Regions from separate parts of the Homo sapiens genome. Here all the other regions are linked to region 4. The links are contacts of gene promoters, found by promoter capture Hi-C in human tissues and cell types (Jung and others, 2019). All regions are on one chromosome and are shown on one strand. Each heading gives the region's core, a stretch centred on a gene start or on the middle of the fragment in contact. The rest is flanking DNA. Distances are from core to core; before and after follow the strand shown.

What was found. The method cuts DNA at HindIII sites, captures the fragments that hold promoters and counts their contacts. A contact is called where the count stands out against the background at its distance.
Region 1: a contact is called between a fragment that was not itself captured here and the fragment with the promoter of ADAMTS5 in region 4, in 3 of the 25 tissues and cell types used here (H1 embryonic stem cells, aorta and mesenchymal stem cells).
Region 2: a contact is called between a fragment that was not itself captured here and the fragment with the promoter of ADAMTS5 in region 4, in 4 of the 25 tissues and cell types used here (heart left ventricle, heart right ventricle, lymphoblastoid cells and 1 more).
Region 3: a contact is called between a fragment that was not itself captured here and the fragment with the promoter of ADAMTS5 in region 4, in 1 of the 25 tissues and cell types used here (IMR-90 fibroblasts).
Region 5: a contact is called between a fragment that was not itself captured here and the fragment with the promoter of ADAMTS5 in region 4, in 2 of the 25 tissues and cell types used here (dorsolateral prefrontal cortex and mesenchymal stem cells).
Region 6: a fragment that was not itself captured here is called in contact with the fragment with the promoter of ADAMTS5 in region 4 in 1 of the 25 tissues and cell types used here (mesenchymal stem cells).
Region 7: a fragment that was not itself captured here is called in contact with the fragment with the promoter of ADAMTS5 in region 4 in 2 of the 25 tissues and cell types used here (IMR-90 fibroblasts and heart right ventricle).

What each region holds. Positions count from the first base shown.
Region 1 is chr21:27,329,365-27,332,064 of GRCh38, forward strand. The region is part of intron 1 of LOC102724355 (a long non-coding RNA gene); the gene reads right to left. Among named protein-coding and RNA genes, the nearest start is that of LINC01673, 310 kb to the right of the region's middle. The HindIII fragment of the contact is 3,443 bases long and covers 1-2,700 here.
Region 2 is chr21:27,476,555-27,479,254 of GRCh38, forward strand. No RefSeq gene overlaps it. Among named protein-coding and RNA genes, the nearest start is that of LINC01673, 160 kb to the right of the region's middle. The HindIII fragment of the contact is 7,074 bases long and covers 1-2,700 here.
Region 3 is chr21:27,438,186-27,440,885 of GRCh38, forward strand. All of the region lies in intron 1 of LOC105372762 (a long non-coding RNA gene), which reads right to left. Among named protein-coding and RNA genes, the nearest start is that of LINC01673, 200 kb to the right of the region's middle. The HindIII fragment of the contact is 3,372 bases long and covers 1-2,700 here.
Region 4 is chr21:26,965,697-26,968,396 of GRCh38, forward strand. ADAMTS5 (ADAM metallopeptidase with thrombospondin type 1 motif 5) reads right to left here and starts at 1,392. Exons shown (of 8, transcript NM_007038.5): 1 at 1-1,392. The coding sequence starts at 695. LOC124905050 reads right to left here. Exons shown (of 3, transcript XM_047441063.1): 2 at 1,748-2,274; 3 at 960-1,388. The coding sequence ends at 960. The HindIII fragment of the contact is 10,779 bases long and covers 1-2,700 here.
Region 5 is chr21:27,313,273-27,315,972 of GRCh38, forward strand. All of the region lies in intron 1 of LOC102724355 (a long non-coding RNA gene), which reads right to left. Among named protein-coding and RNA genes, the nearest start is that of LINC01673, 320 kb to the right of the region's middle. The HindIII fragment of the contact is 4,104 bases long and covers 1-2,700 here.
Region 6 is chr21:27,421,330-27,424,029 of GRCh38, forward strand. All of the region lies in intron 1 of LOC105372762 (a long non-coding RNA gene), which reads right to left. Among named protein-coding and RNA genes, the nearest start is that of LINC01673, 220 kb to the right of the region's middle. The HindIII fragment of the contact is 8,330 bases long and covers 1-2,700 here.
Region 7 is chr21:27,386,247-27,388,946 of GRCh38, forward strand. No RefSeq gene overlaps it. Among named protein-coding and RNA genes, the nearest start is that of LINC01673, 250 kb to the right of the region's middle. The HindIII fragment of the contact is 6,614 bases long and covers 1-2,700 here.

The DNA of each region.
Region 1 (2,700 bases), core at 38-2,537, 360 kb after region 4:
ATTCGATGTTTTCTAGATTGCAATTTCCAAAACAGCAGGGTTGGTGTGTAATTTGTGCACTTTTGGGAACGTACAGTGCTTGTCACTTTGTAAATGCTTAATAGATGTGTGATGAAAGAAAAAAGAAAACATTCTAGAATACACTGAAAAAGTTATGTTTAGTTTTGTCTGACTCACGAGTAAACATATGGCTCTTATGTTTTTAGCAAATATCAAGTTTTGAATTTCAACCCAAGTAAAATGTTTCTCCCGTGGCTCCCTGACAGAACATTCCCAGCTGTTTCAATGCAGAGCTCTGACAGCTTCTAGAGCAAGAGTCAATATTAGTTAATGGTCCAGCTGCAGTTGCGACTATTTTATTTCATCACAATGACAACTTAGATTCCTTCTCCTACTATTTCCTTTGAGATTAGTGCTGCTGAACTTTAGTATTCACAGCTACTCACAGAGCTGTGACTATAAACCCTTTCGAGTTATTCATTATTAGTTCCTACACAACATGTTCTAATTAACTCATAATAAATCCTCCAAAATACTGCATATGTTACATTTTTCATTAGGATCTAATTGGAAGGAAGCTGCATCACTTTCCTTCTGTTAGTAAGCCATCTTTCTTTACATTGCATGATGCATTTTAGTTTGACATGACGATTATTCCATTCCATCAATGACCCAGATTACGTTCTTCCTTCCGTAACAGAATGTATTGTAAAATAATGAAACTGAAACTGCAAGGCAGAGAAAACTACACACACACACCATGATGTGATCGCTGAAGACTTTTGGTATGAGAGTGAATATGTGCATGTGTGTGCATGCAATAATGTGCACTCTATTTTTATGTATTGTGTTCTGAAAAACTATCTTAATAGACTTCTTTTTTTTTTTTTTTTTTTTTTTTTTTTGAGACGGAGTCTTGCTTTGTCAAGACTGGAGTGCAGTGGCGCGATCTGGGCTCACTGCAAGCTCTGCCTCCCGGGTTCACGCCATTCTCCTGCCTCAGCCTCCCCAGCAGCTGGGACTACAGGCGCACACCACCTCGCCCAGCTTATTTTTTTGTATTTTTAGTAGAGACGGGGTTTCACCGTGTTAGCCAGGATGGTCTTGATCTCCTGACCTCATGATCCACCCGCCGTGGCCTCCCAAAGTGCTGAGATTACAGGCGTGAGCCACCGAGCCCGGCCTTAACAGACTTCTTAATAGACCCTTAATATTAAGAAAAACTTAATAGAGCCTCTTTAGATTTGTTATTAGAATACTGAATTCATTGGAAGAAATTCTAGCATTGTTCTTTTGATTGTGTGTTTTCTGGAAAGAACTTTACTTCCACAGTAGTTAAAATAACATACAGATGAAGAATATATATGCTTGTTAATCTTATGTGTTGTGTATGTGTGTGTTGTGTGTGTGTTTGGTTCTTTTGTGCTGTGATTTGTTTTAAAAGAATTTCAGTACAATCAGAGAATAACAATCTTAGAAGACATATTACAGTTCACATAATTAAACCTCTCACTGTTGGAGGTTCTTGCACAGATGTTGTAAAAAATAAAAACAAAAACAAAAAATGAAACATCTTTGTCAGATGAAAAGTGCCATTGCTAGTCTTTCTTCAGTAATGTTACTAAATAAATGTCAGGCTTACCTCATTCGTCTATGGTTATTGTCAGACTGACTCATGTTTCTGCTTAAAAATAATAATAAAAATAATAATAATAAAAGCTGCCATAGTTGTTATGAATGGTTTAGAATAGTGTAGTCACTTTTTAATTTGAAATACAGAAAATAAAGGAGCTTTGAAGCCGTGTTCAGAGTCCTATAAATTTGTATACTCAAAGATGAGATTATTGGCAGAGGGCATATGTAGGTAGCAGTTAGTATTCCTCAAAATACGTACACCCACATCTCAGAAATATGGGTAAGTTTAGAAGGTGGTAGAAAATATATTTACATAACTGTTAAAGCTTTCTAAAACAATTTTTAAAGCATTTCAAGTTTTCTAAAAAACAATCTAGCATTTAATCATCACTTTAGTTTAAGATGATGTACGTATATAAAATATTTAGTTATTTGAAATGCTTTCCACTGATGTCTTTGATAAACGTTTGATTTAAAGAAATAATAATATGGGCAGAGCAAAAACAAAGTGTTTCTCAAATTGTTGTAACAGCTATATTATTTATAATTGAACTAAACTAGTCAAAGCTCTTACCCTGTCTGGTTGTGACAACAAATGTTGTGGTCAGTTAAATTTACTTTGAAATTCTTTAGATGGAAACTATTTTATAGATTCCAATTTGTTTGCTTAAAAAATATACATGGCAATATCTATGTTCAATTGTACAGCAGAGATTCTAAAACTGTCCAAAGTTGAAAGTTAAATCCTATATGCATATGTATTGTATTTACTCAGCATGATGTTAAATTTTAAAGCAGCATCACAAAATGAATAAAATAATTTCATGTGTTCCAAAATAAGTGAAAAGCCAGTGTTTCACCACCACTTCTCTTAATCGCTAGGATTATGATATGCGGAATCATTTGAGAGGCAGGGCATGAGATTTTGAGTAATGAAAAACATCTTGAACAAAGGCTTTGAAATGGGGGTGAATCATGGCATTTGGATTTGCTATAGTGAGAAAATCTAGGTATAAAGGGATGAGAAGCAAGACTAAAATGACAATAGAGGGATTGCAAAGGAAA
Region 2 (2,700 bases), core at 22-2,521, 510 kb after region 4:
AAGTTTTCTGGTTATCAGCTCTCCAGAGAATTCCATTTTAATTGTAATATATTGTTTATAGTAAAATACATTTGGAATTATTTTTTATGAATTAGTTAATTAAAGATATATGATCTAGTTGAGATGACAGTATTTTTTTCCTTTCATGTACTATCAGGAACTTCTAATAACTACTTTCAGTCAAATATAGTTATTTAAATCCTGTCATTATATACAATCACTAAGTTACAAAATTGTAAATTCAAAGCCTCTCTTCTAGAACTGCCAGGCATTCTACTAGGCAGAATAAACGTTAACAGTGATTTTCTTTCATAAGTCAATTCCTATGCTGCTGCCCAGCAATGCAAAACACTTACTTCCTCTAGTGGCTAATCATGTTGCCTACAAAAGAAGAATTTCTTTTTCTTCTGGGCTTTTAGATATTATCTAAGAAAAACAGTGCATTTTTAAAATTGGTTCTCTTCTTAATTAAAAAAAAGCTTTGAAATCAGTAGAAGATTTTATAAAAGTATAAAAGAGAAGCTGCTATTGTTATTTTTAAGAGTAAAATAAAGTACTACAGCCTATCATGAGTGTAAAATTCATGAGTCAAATCTGTTTCAGTTGTACACAGTCCTTGACACATAGTAGGCACATATAATGTATCTCCCTAGTTAGAGGTTTCTATAGAGTGGGGTTTTGAATATTTATTAAAATTGTGGGGCTAAGGGGGCAATTATTTTACCAGATTCAATCATAATAACAGAATGTGATACTAAGATACGAATGACAAATAGCTCACAATAATCCAGTTAAGAATTCTGAAAAATACAGCTGTGTGTATCAGAATTAATAAAATACCAAAATGACATTTCGAAAATGAGGAAAGCATGAATTTTTCAATAAGTGGAATGGTGAAAATTAAGTATACACTTGGGAGGACATGACAGGAAAGATATATCCCTATTTCACAACTTTTACACAAAATAAATTCCAATTGGATTAAAGATCTAAACATAAAACTGAAACCATATGCAAACTTACATGGCTTATTTAATATGATACCAAAGACTGAACTGAGAAAGGATTGTAGTTCAACAGATTTAAATGTTTAAAAATGTTTGCTTATCAAACCATATCAAATCAAGTAAGAAAGCAAAAGACAAGAATAGGAAAAATTTTGCATTGTGTACAAATAGTCAATATCTTTAATATAAATAACTCCCTTTTATGAATTATTTAGGAAAGTGCAAGTAATCCACTAAGGTGGTTAAAGAAACTGAACTAGTAAATCACAGGAAGAAATAAAAAATCAGTATGGCTAAGCATCTTAGTACTTTGCATTATGTTTATGAATTATATTACAATGAGGTCACTAAAGATTAAAACAGGGGACATTTTCCATTGTTATTAAGACTGAGGACAAAGGAGTACTCAAGGGTAACAAGTTAATGAAAGAACAAATTGTCTCAATTTTTAAGTTAATGAGAGAATAAATTGTTTCAATTTTCAAGTTAATGAGGGAATAAATTGTTTCAATAGTCTTCAATCATACAATACTGCAGTCAGTAAAATAATATCTATTTTTAGAACATTGACAGAGAACAATGTCTTGGACATATTTTAAGACAAAACCCTTGAACAAGGTAGGTTTGAACTGCACAGCTCCACTTATACATGGATTTTTTTTTCACCTCTGCCACCCTTGATACAGCAAGATCAACTACTCCATTTTCTGCCTCCTCCTCAGCCTACTCAATATGAAGTTGATGAGGATGAAGACCTTTATGATAATCCACTTCCACTTAATGAATAGTAAATATATTTTCTCCTCGTGATTTTTTCAACAACATTTTTCTCTTAGCTTACTTTAATGTAAGAATACAATATAAAATACACGCAGCATACAAAATATATGTTAATCAACTGTTTATGTTACCAATAGGCTTCTAGTCAACAGTAGACTATTAGTAGTTAGGTTTTTGGGGAGTCAAAACTTATACATGAATTTTTGACCATATGGGGTTTGGTATTCCTAATCCTCATGTTGTTCAAGGGCAAAGCATGTAAGGCATCTATATAGTTACTATAGCTATTGTCTTAGTTCATTTTGTGCTTCCCAGACAGAATTTCACAAACTGGGAAATTTAAGAGAAATGTATATCTTCGCAGTGTTCTGGAGGCTGGGAAGTCCAAGACACAGGTGCCAGCAGGTTCATTTATCTGATGATGATCTGGTCTCTGCTTCCAAGATGGCACCTTGAATGCTGTGTCTTTTGAAAATGGGGGAATGTTATATCCTCACATGGCAGAAGACAGGAGGGCAAAAAGCGAAAAGGGGCAAACTCCTTTCATTAAACCCTTTTATAATGGAATTAACTGACTTATGAGCAAAGAGCCCTCTTGAACTAAGCACTTCCCAAAAGATCCTATCTCCCAACACTGTTGCATTAGGGATTGTTTCCAACACATGAATTTCGGGGGACTAATTTTGACCATAGCATTCCAACCCTGGCTCCCCAAATTGATGTTTTTTTCAAATACAAAACACAGCTATTCCATCTCAATAGCCCAAAAAGCCATTCTGATGCCAACTTAAAAATCTGAAGTCTGGAGTCTTATCTAAATAAGTTATGGGTGAGGCTCAATGCATGGTTCATCCTGAGGCAAATTTCCCTTTAGCTGTGAGCCTGTGACATCAAACAAGTTACGTGATTCTAA
Region 3 (2,700 bases), core at 167-2,666, 470 kb after region 4:
ACAAAGACTTCCCAATTTAATACAAAGTAGATACTTAGACGTGTTGGTTGAAAGATGGATGGATGAAAGGAGAAAGGAAGAAAGAAGAAAAAAAATGAACATTTTCAAGGGTGGATTTGAATTTTGAAAGCCAAAACTCATTTGGAATTTCTAATGTAAATGTACTTCATAATCATGCTGAATAGCTGAAAAATCAAGGTGAAATATGACACTGACTTTCTTGAGACTAATATCATATTTGAAGAAATTTTAAAAATTATTATAAATTGAAATATATTTTAGAAATAACTTTATATACATAAGTGTTTTTAGAAAACGACATATATAGGTGTAAAAGGTAATAAAATTAAAATACTTTGACTCATGTTACTCTTGTTCTTAAATTCCTTCAATGACAGTACAACCAGCAAATGCTTGAAACTCTCTAATATAAAGTTGTTTATTGTGCATTTTTAGCTTATCTCTCCTGCTTTATCTCTAGTTACACATTCCTTGTATTTTGTGATCTGACCATGGATAATTAGCCCCCTTCTGACTGCTATTCCCTTCTCATCAATCCATGGATGGTTTATCTAGCCCATTTTTATCTCAAAACTCAATTCATATATCACTTCTGCCTGTAACTTTTACCAACTGGACACCCTTCCAGTCTAGATATGAGACTTTGCACTTGGCTCCCAAGGCATGGTGCATAGAACACCCTCAGCCTGTAGCCTTCTCCTCTCCTCTTTCTCAGTTCGTCTTTCTTCAGGATACAGATGCTGATATGGTTGTTCAGACTTCAGGACATGTGGGTGGAGTCTATTCAGACAAGTTTGTACTCCCCTCCCAAGAAAAAGCTACCTCTTTTTTTCCTACATTTTCAAGCTTCATACTGCATTTTTTTCAGAATTGCCAATAGTAGCCTTATGGTTGTGAATGTGGAGAAAAGAAGCATTGCTACATTTGGGGGCTTATGTCATGTACTGCGATGTGATTTCTAGAATACTTTTACATGGGGTATTCTTTAAAGACTCAGTTAACACGCTCATTTGCTATTTTTTCTGTGCATGTGCTTCAAGTATCCAGAGAAGAAAAGGGAAAGCATAATTGTCAGAGATGTTTAGATGTTTAGAGTTAGAACTGATTTACTACATTGTATCAATATTCCCTTGAGGGTCACCATTTTCCTTACATTATTGGTCAATGTAATTCCAAGGTCTACAACTGAACTAAGTTCTACTGGGAACTCAATATAGTTTGGTTGAATGAAAGACTGGTTCAATGAATACATGAAAATGTTCTATGTATTCTATATGAAGATGTTTTAAAATTGTGCTGTTTTTTGTTGTTTATTTACTTGTTTGGTTAATTTGTTTAATGACTTCATTACCTTCTCTTTAGCCGGAATCTGTCCAAGAGAATTTCCTTTTAGGCTTTAAAGCTGAATGTATTGGAAGCATTTGAAACTACTTATAAGTCTAATAATGACCAACAGAATTGCCTGTTATTTATTTTCTTCAAAAATTTTAAATGTGATATTTAAACATATTAAAAGTAGTTAAACTGTTTCCTAGTTACATGTTTTTTGCTTAGTTAGGAAGGTTTTATGCTTTTGTTAACCTTCAAAAGCAAAGGAACAACTGTGTTGTCTGGTTTAGGTGAGATAAATTCCAGCTTTCTGCTCCTTAATTTTGTCATTTGTACAATAAACAAATGATATAACCTATTTCATACAGTGATTTCGAGGATTAAATAATATTATTAAATCACATAATATTTAGTGTTATTTGCTAACGTTCTTACCATAGTTCCCTAAATATACTAAAACTTAAAGTTTGTCATTGCCCAATCATAAACTGGCCAATTAGCAGCTTGATGATAAAACAGAAGTAGATGTTTTTAATTAAAATTAGACTATAAATATAGACTTTAAAATTTTTATTATGAGTTAAAATAAATTCAATAAATGAATTGGGAATGAAATACATATAGGCAAAGATTTAATTCTAACTGAAATCTGAACATTTGCCCTATTGATATGCACAGGAGACAGGGAAATACTGTGTAGAAGAGAGCTGTTCCCTGGAAAAGGCCCTACCCTCCAGCCTGAAGACCCAAGTCCCTAAATGAGGACAGGCATTTCTGTTTTCATGCCCCAAAAGTTGCCTTTTGGCCTGCCATACCCCCTACCCTGCACCCATATAATCCCTGAAACCCAGGCAAGCCAGCAGATCAGCAGATGGACGGACAGCAGAATGATGTGGCAGAGAAAGAGAGAAGAGGAGGAACATTTGAATGCCAAGAGGAGTTCGACTGGGGGTGGTTGGAGAGGAATCCAGCTGCTGGGTGACCCTCTTCCAGGGGAAGACCACCTTTTCACTCCATCCCCCACCTTCCATCTCCCCATCTATCCCATCAAAAGCCACCTCCAGGTGAAGACCACCTTCTCACTTGATCCCCACCTTCCAGCTCCCCCTCCATCCTACTGAAAGCCACCTCCATCACTCAAAATCTCACATTTATCCTTCAAGCCCGAGTGTGACCTGATTTTTTCTGGGATAATGCACAAAAGCTCAGGATACAGAAAGCTTTCACAGTGGCCCTCTGCCCTTTTGTAAGGGCAGAGGGTCCATTGAGTTGATTAATACTCAAGCTGTCTGTGGGTGGCAAAGCTGAAAGAGCTTTGGGGTTGTAGGCACCCACTCGTAGACATTACCT
Region 4 (2,700 bases), core at 142-2,641:
GCGCGTCCGCTCGGGTTGCTGTGCGCCGGAGCATGCTCGTGGGCCTCCGGTGTGGACGCGGGGGTTTCGCAGCTGGCGCGCGGCGGCAGGGCCTCGAAGCTGAAGCCCTCGCGGGTGTAGACGTGCAGGATCCGTGCGGACCCATCCCCGTACACGCGCCCCTTTTCTTCCTCCGCCCAGGGTCCGCGCAGCAGTGGCTTTAGGGTGTAGCGCGCGTGCTTGACCGCGAAGAAGCCGTCGAGACCCCCACAGAGGTCAAAGACAGCCAGAGAGCGGGGACTACCGTCCACTGTGCCCCGATAGAAGCAGTGGCTCCGGTGGCGCCAGGGCGCACTCGTCCCGCCTCCTGCGGGCACGAAGCCAGCAATGCCCACCGAACCATCTCGCTCCAGGTCCAAGAGGAACCTCCGGCCGCCCGCGTAGACGAGGTAGCCCACCTTGCCGCCGCCGGAGTAGAGTTGGTCGATGTTCTGCACCAGCCCCTTGCTCCTGCGCCGCTGCGCCAGGGGGTGCGGGTGGCCGGGAGGCTCGGCTCGCTCCTGCACCTCCTCCCCCTGCCGCCGGCGGGGCTGGGCGGCTGCTGCAGCAGTCGGAGGCTGCCCGGCTTTATCCTGGGCAGGTGTCGCGGCGGGGCCGACCGCGGCCAGGGGCAGGCGGAACGCGCACAGCAGCAGGGACGCCCACCCGAGCAGCATAGTGCGCTGCCCGCGGGGAGGGGCTGCGCGACTGGGACTTTATGGGTATTTGTTATTTGCTATGAAGTTAACGGGGCGGGGGATGGGGACACACACACACTTGCTTGCAGGATTGAGTCAAGTGTCGGAGGGAGGGGGGCCCGGCAGCAGCGCCAGCCTGTCCGGGCTGCGGTGCCAGCGTGCGAACTTTTCTTTGTTGCTTGGGAAAATGTTTGGATTCGTGCTCCAGAAAGAGGTGGGGTGGGGGGGGGGGGAAAGAAAAGATTAAAAAAAAAAAGTCGGATAGTGGAGATTCAGCAAATACGGGAAAAGGAAAAAAACAAAAACCAAAAAACCACCAAATGCAGGCACGATCGCTGTTTCAAGAAAAGTAAGGAAAGGTACCGCGCACCGGGCTGGCAACTGGTGCGCGCAGCCTCCCGCCCCCGCGCTGCGCTGGACAAGCCGGCTGTGGAGGTTCCAAGCTCCGGGGCCCACTTCCTTTCTTATTTTGTGGGTTTCCTTGGCTCTGCTGGGACCAGGAGGAAGGGAAGAAAGAGAGGGGAAAAAGCCGTAAAAATTAAAACAAAAATGCAGGGGGGCAGCCTGAGGCGAGCTGGTGAAGCGGCGTGTCTGTGTCCCTTCGGCTGCGGTCTCCTCCTGCCCGCCGTCATCCCCAGTCGGCAGCTGCGAGCGCCGAGAGCAGCGCGAGCGCTGTGAAGATGCGAGGAGGTGGAACAATGAATTTATAGCGGCATGCCATCCTGCAATGGCAATTTCAACAGTTCGTCACTGCACGCTGCCTCTTAAAGGGAGAGCTTCCCCCACCACTCCCACCCTTCCCAGTCCGCGCCTAATCAGATGGGGGAGGGCAAAAGAGGAGGGTGATCGAGGAAAGGGAGACGAAGTAGGAGGAAGGGACTGGGACCCGGCGAGGTGGTAGGAGGGGAGAGGGGAAAATAAAAAGTAATGGGGCAAGAAAAACAGATTTCCTTGGCCACTTTTAAAGCCACAGCGGCTCCGGGTCTGTCTGATATTTCACAACCAATTGGGGTTGGCTAACCTTGGCTTACCTCATCTCCTGAACGGGTGTTTTGGTTAAAGTTATTGAGACGTTTCAAGTCTCTCCCTGCCTCCTTCTTGCCTGCTTTTCTCGCCCTCGGTGGGAAGTTCCTGCCGCAAGTTTTTCCCCTTTGCACACCCGTGCGCTCTGGCCTCGCAGACCGTGCAACTCCATCCACCAGCCAGAGCTTTTCAGCTTCCCGTGCGTCCCCTAACCACCGCGTTCCCTTCGCTTCCTCCCCTCCGTCCCGGCACCCGGTTTCCTCCCTCCCCATTCTCCAGCCTCTTGATGCTTTGACGCTCGCCGGATTCGGGCTCCGGGTGACTAACTTCTCCCGGCCACCAGCAGAGCGGCTGGACAGCCAGAGAGCCCAGGGCGCTTCCTGGCGCGCTGCGGTACCCCGGGGCGAGAACGCCCGCCGCTTGGGAACTCCGCAGCTTTGTGTGCGAACGGCGGGCTCCCAGCTTTCTCCAGCACGCCTTTCGTCAGGGTCCACAATCTGTCCCTTACTCCCAGCCCACTGGAACTTCCTTTGCTCTAAAAAGGCAGAGCGAGAAAGAGTTAACTCTTAGAGGGAATTCCGCTCATTTTTTTTCCCTGAAAGATTTTAAAATTTTGCGCTCATACTTTTATTTTTTGCTTAAATGATACTTTAATAATAAATTCCTATATCTGTTTTTGTCTCTTCTAAAGCAACCACTTATCGCCATAGGCCTTGACCTACCTTCATTCTCAGAAATTCCTTTTAGAAGAAAAAGAATACTTTTGGCGGAAGGAAGATTGGTGCTTATTAGTACGCGGGTGACATTATCACTGCTACTCGTTTCCTCTGACCTCTTTGTTTCCTCTAATTATCATTCTAAGAAGGGAGAAGGAAAACCCGACGACTTATGGTTAGAAGGTCTACCTTCTACTGTAGGGGTAAGAGCTCCCTCCATGCCCAAATTATTCTTCAGGCTAATT
Region 5 (2,700 bases), core at 71-2,570, 350 kb after region 4:
TCAGAAGTTTTGGTATGTTGTTGTCTCTATTTTCATTCACTTCAAGGAATTTTTTTATTTCTGTCTTAACTTCATTGTTTGCAGAAAAGTCATTCAGGAGCAACCTTCCTTGCACTTGTGTAGTTTTGAAACTTCCTCTTAGTATTAATTTCTAATTTTATTAAACTGTGGTTGAGGAAGATACTTAATATGATTTAGATTTTTTGAAAATTTATTGGTACTTGCTTTATGGCCCAAATATATGGTTGATTTTTGAGAATGTTCCTTGTGGAGGTGGGAAGAATGTATATTCTGTGGTTGTTGGATAGAATGTTATTTAAATGTCTATTAGGTCCATTTGGTCTATAGTACAGTTTAATCCATAGTTTCTTTGTTGATGTTCTGCCTCAATGTTCTGTCTAGTGATGTCATTGGGATGTTAAAGTCCTCCCTTATTGTATTCCTATCAATACAATAGTGTTTTCTTAGATGTAGTAGTATTTGCTTCATGAACCTGGGTGCTCTGGGGTTGGGTACATATGTATTTAAGATATTTAAATTTTCTTGTTGTATTGAACCCTTTATCATTATATAATACCCTTCTTTGTCTTATTTTTCTGTTGTTGGTTTAAAGCCTGTTTAATCTGAAATAAGAGTGGCTACTCCTGCTCACTTTTGTTTTCTGTTTATATATCTTTTTTCTTCTAATTTACTTTGAGTCTGCAGCTGCCTTTAGCCAGTAAGTGAGCCTCTTACATGCAGCAGATGGTTGAGTTCTGGAATTTTTGTTTGTTTTCTTTGTTTTGTCTTCTTTTGTTTTGTTTTTTACAGTTTCCACTCTATGTTTTTAGAGTAGAGCATTCAAGTCATTTATATTCAAGGATAATGTTGATAGGTGAGATTTTATGTTTATCATAGTGTTGTTAGCTAGTTGCCTTGTGGTTTCATTGTGTAGTTGCTTTATGTTATCTGTGAGCTTTGTATTTCTGTCATCTTTTATGATGGTGTGGGTCATTCTTTCATTTCCATGTGTAGACTGCACATTTGTTGGTGGTCTGGTCTAGTGGTGACAAATTCCCTTGGTGTTTCTTTGTCGGGGAAAGGTTATATTTCTCCTTAATTTATGAAGCTTAGTTTGGCAGAACACAAAATTCCTGGCTGGCTTTTTTGTTTCTTTAAGTGGGCTAAAAATAGGCTCTTAATGTCTTCTGGATTATAGGGTTTCTGCTGAGATTTCTGCTGTTAGTATAATAGGATTTCAAAATGATTAGACCCCTCTCTTGATGCTCTTAGAGTGTTTTTTTTCCCCTCTCATTGACTTTGGATAGTCTGATGACTATATACATTGGTGAAGTTCTTGCAATGTATCTCTAGGAATTCTCTGAGCTTCTGGTATCTGAATGTCTAAATCTGTCCCAAGACTAGGGAAGTTTTCTTAAATTATTTCCTCAAATAGGTTTTTCATACATTCTTCTTCTTCTTTGTTTTCTTCTTCCTCTGTCATTATGTAATTATGTATAACTTGTAGGTTTGGATGTTTTACATAATCTCATATATCCTGAAGTCTTTGTTTATTTAAAATTTTTTTAAATTGTTTCTCACTGTTAATTTGAAAGACCTGTCTTCTAACTCTATAATTCTTCTTCCACTTGGTCTAGCCTATTGTTAAAATTTTCAGCTGTATTTTGTAACTATTTCAAAATTTTTTTTACTTCTAGAAATTCTTTTTATTTTTTAACGATGCCTGTCTCCTTTTCCATGTCCTGAATTTTTTCTCTGATTTCTTTATGTTGGTTTTAGTTTTCTCTTGGATCTCAATTATTTTCTTTAAAATCAGTATTTTGAATTCTTTATCTGTTATTTCAAAGATTTCATTTTGTTTGAGATCCATTGCTAGAGAGTTACTGCTTCACTTTGGGGGTGTTGTAACACTGTTTTTTCCTATACTTTTGGAGTTTTTTCTCTTGTTCTTTTACATCTGGATAAGCTGTCTCTCCTTCATATTTTTTGATTTTGCTTTACTTTGGAAAGGACTTTTTCCCTTCTTGAGGAGGTGTCTACAATGTATGATGTTGTATAAGGTCCTTTTACTTTGTTTCTGGGAGTTTTCAGTGGTAAAGAGTCTGGAAAAACTCCTTAGTTATTGAAGCCTTTCTATGGTGGCTTTCTCAAATGTTTGTTGTAGTAGCAATGTGTTAGGCATGTGAGTAGGCTCAGGAAGCTTATCACATTTTCCAGAGCTATGCATTTGTGTCAGCAGATTTCCTCTTGTTTTGTGGGGTTCAACCTCCATGCCAGTGGGTGGTGCTGTAGTGTTAGAACTGGCTGCAGCCAATCGGGATGGGTATACACTAATACTTGATCCTTGTTTACTATGGGAAGCTCTGTGTTACCCAAGACAATGGGTTGAACTGTGGAATTCACAGGGTTCTGAGCTCCCTACTTATCTCCAGAGTGGGGGACCAAGGTAGGCAGGGCCCGACTGGACAGGCCTGCCTCATGTCTCATAATGGCAGGCACAAGCACCAGCTGTGTTGGGGGATTCTAGTGCACAGCCACCAAATGCCCAGAAGTGTGCCTAGGCATGGAGTTGGAAAACCTCCACTGCCCCAAGTTTTCTGCACAGGTAGGGGAGTATGGCCTAAACACAACATCAAGAAGAGTGGGTACTCCAAATTCCTGGAGATATATCTGGGCTTTCAGCACAGAAAGCTCCACTGC
Region 6 (2,700 bases), core at 110-2,609, 460 kb after region 4:
GCTAATTTTCTTTTTTTTTTTCGTATTTTTAGTAGAGAGAAGGTTTCACTGTGTTAGCCAGGATGGTCTCGATCTCCTGACCTCGTGATCTGCCCGCCTCGGCCTCCCAAAGTGCTGGGGTTACAGGCCTGAGCCACCACGCCCGGCTGAATTGTATATATTTATGCTGTACAACATGTACAATATATATCCAACATATATCTTGGGTATATATCTAGACACTATGGAATGGCAGAATCAGGCTAATTATCATATTCCATTTCCTCACACACTTACCATTTTTGTGGTGACAGCACTTAAAATCTACCCTTTTGGCACATAGTACATTGCTGTTAAGTATGATCACTGAGTCCTGAACTTATTGCTCCTAACTGAAATTTTAAAATTGATTTCTTTCTTATCTTCCTGTCTTTACTTGGAAGCCAACTATTGTTTTTCTTGGCTTTTAAATGATGGGTGGCATGCTAATCTGAGGTCCGTTTTGCAAGTTCTTGAGAACAGATTACCCAAGGAAACAACAACCATATTCCCTAGTGTCTTATGATGTAACCAGTGGAATGGTACCCATGGGAGGAGAGGGAAGAGGTAAAAACTTGGTTGTGGACCTCAGCTCATGCAATTTTGCTCTGTCGTGGGGACCCTCTACTGTTCGGCTTTCCAGTGTTACTGTGTGTATTCTTTTATATGCTGAGGAAGTTGTAGGAAAGTAAGGAAAATAAAACACTTTTTTTTTTTTTGAGACAGAATCTTGCTCTATGCCCCAGGCTGGAGTGCAGTGGCACAATTTCAGCTCACTACAGCCTCCACCTCCTGGGTTCAAGGGATTCTCCTGTCTCAGCCTCCTGAATAGCTGGGACTACAGGCGCCCACCACCACACCTGGCTAATTTTCGTATTTTTTCGGTAGAGATGGGGTTTCACCATGTTGGCCAGGCTGGTCTTGAACTCCTTGACCTCAATTGGTTCACCCATCTCAGCCTCCCAAAGTGCTGGGATTACAGGTGTGAGCCACTGTGACTGGCCTGTTCGTTTTTTACATCAGCATATCTGTTACTCCCCACTAAGGATGAGGAACTTCGCACTGGAGCAAGATGATTAGGAGAAAAATGAATCTGCTTTGCCACCTAGTTTGGGGGGAATTGATGGAGCACACACTTCTGAGGGACACATGATCTCTTTCTCAGCAGTAACTTGCTAATGCTGTACCAGCTTTCAGCTTGTCTGGAAATGGCAAGAGTGTTTTATGAGTGTCTTATGGACACAATGAATCAGCTTTACCTCAAAATAAAAGTTAAAAAAAAATACATTCTGGCTTACCCCATGATACAATGCTAAGTGCATTCATAGGCACACACACGGAGTCTTTCTGTCTAAAAAACAGCACTGTGTTTACATCCTGCCACCTATCTCAGAGGGACTGACTAAGACTTGGAAAACTCTGATGATATCCTTTAATCTTTTCCTTAATATGGGAATATAGTGTTTAATCTTTGTACCTTTTTATATAAGTTTTCATCTGAAATGGTTTTTTTTCAAATGTATTTCTCTTAGGTTGGGTGCATGGTGGCACAATATCATGCCTTATTATTTAACGTTCACATCTCCCTCCCAATAATTTAAACCATCCAAATATTTGTTGATAATTTTCGTATTCCCATTTCATGTTTGCACAGCCAAATAACACATGTAAAATTCCTTTAATCTCTCCATACAAAATAAATCCTCCATTGCTTTAATTATTCCTAGTAGTGCTTTCTGAACTTTTACCAGCCTTGCTTGGCAGAATTATGGTGAGAAAGTTGAATCCAGGCTGTCAGTAGCAAAGTGTTTGCCATGCTATTATCCTTGGCAACTGCAGGCCTCCTCCAGGCTACAAAACAGCTCAGTGCCTACCTCCTTTTCCCTGCTTTCTACTGGCCTACAAATTCCAGCTGTGGTCAGCTGGTGAGCTCTGAGCTACAGGGACGGCGTGGCGCATGTTTTGGGCTTGACTCAGGGATCATGTAATGTTGGGACAGTGAACTTTCCGATGGGAGCCAATAACACCCATGGTTGTTTTCACCTCCTGACCAGAATGTCTCAACTTAATTCAATCATCTGAACATCAATGAGGGTGACTGGAAAAAATTTTTTATCACAGCACTAAAATAAAAGCAATTCCAAGATGTTTTCTTTTCCATTGCACATTTTCAGAGCTTTGATTTTCCTGGTAAAATGCTCTTTGCATGTGCCATGTTCCCAGATTAGGAGAAGATGATACCCAAGGGAGAAGAGGTAAAAATGCACATAAATAATTTTACACCATGACACCGTGGTTAAGGCTTTCAAGGATGCTTTTAATGATGCTATGTGCCATGGTTTTAAAAGTCACTATCAAGTTATTTATTTGTATATATTTTGTTTCCTCTTAAAAACTCTTTAAATAAATAAAAGAGGAGAAATTGTACAAATTTCTTCTTTTACTGTGTACCTACTCTTGCTTTGTGTTTATGAGTGAAGAGAGATGGGGAACATACAGAATATTAAGTGGTATATTTAAGATACTTGTTCATTTTAAGATTTAGGCTTGCAATTTAGGTGTGCCTAATTTGTCTGCTTTGGGAGCTCAAAGGTCAAGTTGCCACCGCAATTAAGCATCAATATTCCTTAATTTGAAGTGTTAAAAAATATGTGTGTGTGAGCGTGTGCATATCTGTGTTCA
Region 7 (2,700 bases), core at 133-2,632, 420 kb after region 4:
GCCTACTCACCTGACTTCTGACATTGTATTGGGAAGCTGCTAATCACGTTTCAGGTTTTTTCTATCTATTGGGAGACGGCCGTTCCCTGGCGCCAGCTGCAGCCAATTATTATTTGAGAGAACCAGTGTAAATACCACCTGCCCATCATCTAATGGTTCCCTGACATTCCTGGTGGGGACACAGGGGTGCTTCTCTTGCCCTGCTCATGTCTAACTCCTACTATAACAAATATACATTATACTTATATTTGTAATGCCCAACTAAAATCAGTATTTCACCACTGCATGTGGAATTCAGAAAGCTTACCAGCCTTTGGGTCTCTATCCTCCTTTATTTTGAGTTGTCTTACGTATTACAACTACGTAGAACTAAAATACTATCAACAATGTTATAATTTTCTTTCCACTCTCAAACATGTTTTAAACACTCCAGAGGAAAATGATAGTCTATAACATTTACTCAATAGTACCATTTATGTTGCTCTACTTTCATTACTAACGTTTCAAATTTCCCTCTGGTATTCTGTCTAAAGGTCTTTGAAGGCTGGGCGCGGTGGCTCTTGCCTGTGATCCCAGCACTTTGGGAGGCCGAGGTGGGTGGACCACCTGAGGTCAGAAGTTCAAGACCAGCCTGGCCAACATGGCGAAACCCTGTCTCTACTAAAAATACAAAAAATTAGCTGGTCGTGGTGGCATGCGCCTGTAATCCCAGCTACTAAGGAGGCTGAGGGGGAAGAATCGCTTGAACCTGGGAGGTGGAGGTTGCAGTGGGCCGAGATTGCGCCGTTGCACTCCAACCTGGGCAACAAGAGCAAAACACCGTCTCAACAGCAACAACAAAAAGTCCTTTAATGATTCTCTTTGTAAAGATCTGCTAGCAATTAATTTTCTTAATTTCATTATTTAACTTTCATTTTTTAAAGATAGTTTCACTACATAGATAAAGTCTGGGTTGATAATCTTTCCTTTTAGAACTTAAAAATATTGCTCCCCCCCAGAAAGTAGGTAACTATGTAAAGTGATAGATACGTTAATTAAGTTGATTGTGGTCATCATTTCACAATGTGTATGGACATCAAAACATTATATATATCTTAAATGTAAACAATTTTTATTGTCAATTATAGCTCAATAAAGCTGGGAAAATATTGTTCCATTTCCTTCTGGTCTTGACATTTTCTAATGAGTAATCTGATACCATTCAAATATCTATTGTTTAGGACACAAATCAAAATTACTCAGAATTTGAAGAGCCAGGAAAATATCAACTTGAGTGGGAAAAGGCAATCAACATATGCCCTTTATTGTGCAAAACTCGGGTAACAGGTAAACAAGATTAACAGGGACCGCTAGGATCAAGAAATGGAAGATGCCTCCCTACATACATCTGAGATGAATCCACAAAGATATCAATGTGAGTATGGGATGGCTTCCCATATAGTGATCAAGTAGATTGTCATATTTAAAAAAATTAAATAATTATTTTATGTTTGAAAAGGAAAGTTTATCAATTAAATTTATAAGTTTCCAATCTGTTAGACCTATGCTTTGATCACCTTTCATCAGAACTTGCCATCTACCATCTACCCAACTTAGGGTTGCTAATTAGCTAGGATAATTATCACACTCATGTCCTTATATGCAAACCTTTATTTTTCTTGGTCACTGAAGAAGAGTCTCAGTTTAGATATAGGTTTTCTGTGTAAGAAAATCTGTTTTACAGAAATGTAAATACATTTTCTCTCTTACTCTAATGCTTAAACCAAAATATGAGCATAATAATACTATAGTTATATAGTATTATTAGTATATATAGTATATAGTATATATAGTTATATAGTATTATTATATAGTATTATAGTTATATAGTATTTATTAACAAATAAAAATTTAATTGTAAAACTGAGTACATTAATTTTGCTTCTTTAGTAATACACAGAAGGGGTCCTTAGTGAATAAGTTGTATTCCCAAGATAGCACAGCAAATTAATAATAGAGTCAAGTGGGAACCCTGGTTTTCTTTTTCAAGTATTAGTACAATACAGTGTTTAGAGGGTTCCAGAAGAGGAATATTCCTTCAGCATATTAGACACACCTTAAGATCAAATTGATACCAAATTGATTTTCAGAAATGTTCTACTTGCTGCATTGTGTTAAAAATAATCTTCAAAAGTAACAGTGGAAGATGTACGTATTTTGGGCCCACAGACTTCTGAGTTCAAATCAATCTTCTGTCCATTAGTAGCTAACAAGTACTTTATTTGAACTTGAAAATAGTGTAAGTTAAACTTATTCTTAATGAAGAATTTAGCTTGGAAGCTATCGCTATGTCTGACACATTTTCAGTAACCATTTATTTTCTGCCTTCTTTGGCTGAAATGTCATTTAATAAGATGCCTTTATAATTTTAATAATCGTGTAGTCTAATTCACCAATTATATAATACAATTGTTTAAAAACCTATTTAAGAACAATTAATCTAAATAATTCCTATTTTATTATATTTTAAATAAAATTTATATTCTGTTTAAAAATTTGCATATAGCTACCAATGATAATTACATTTAACATTTTTTGGCTATTGTATCCTAAAATTTTATAAGTTGATATCTCAAACACCAAGACTGATGACACAAAATAACTGTAATTTCCAGTTATTATCTCTAAAGGCGTGTCTACATTAGGCAGGATGTGGAAATG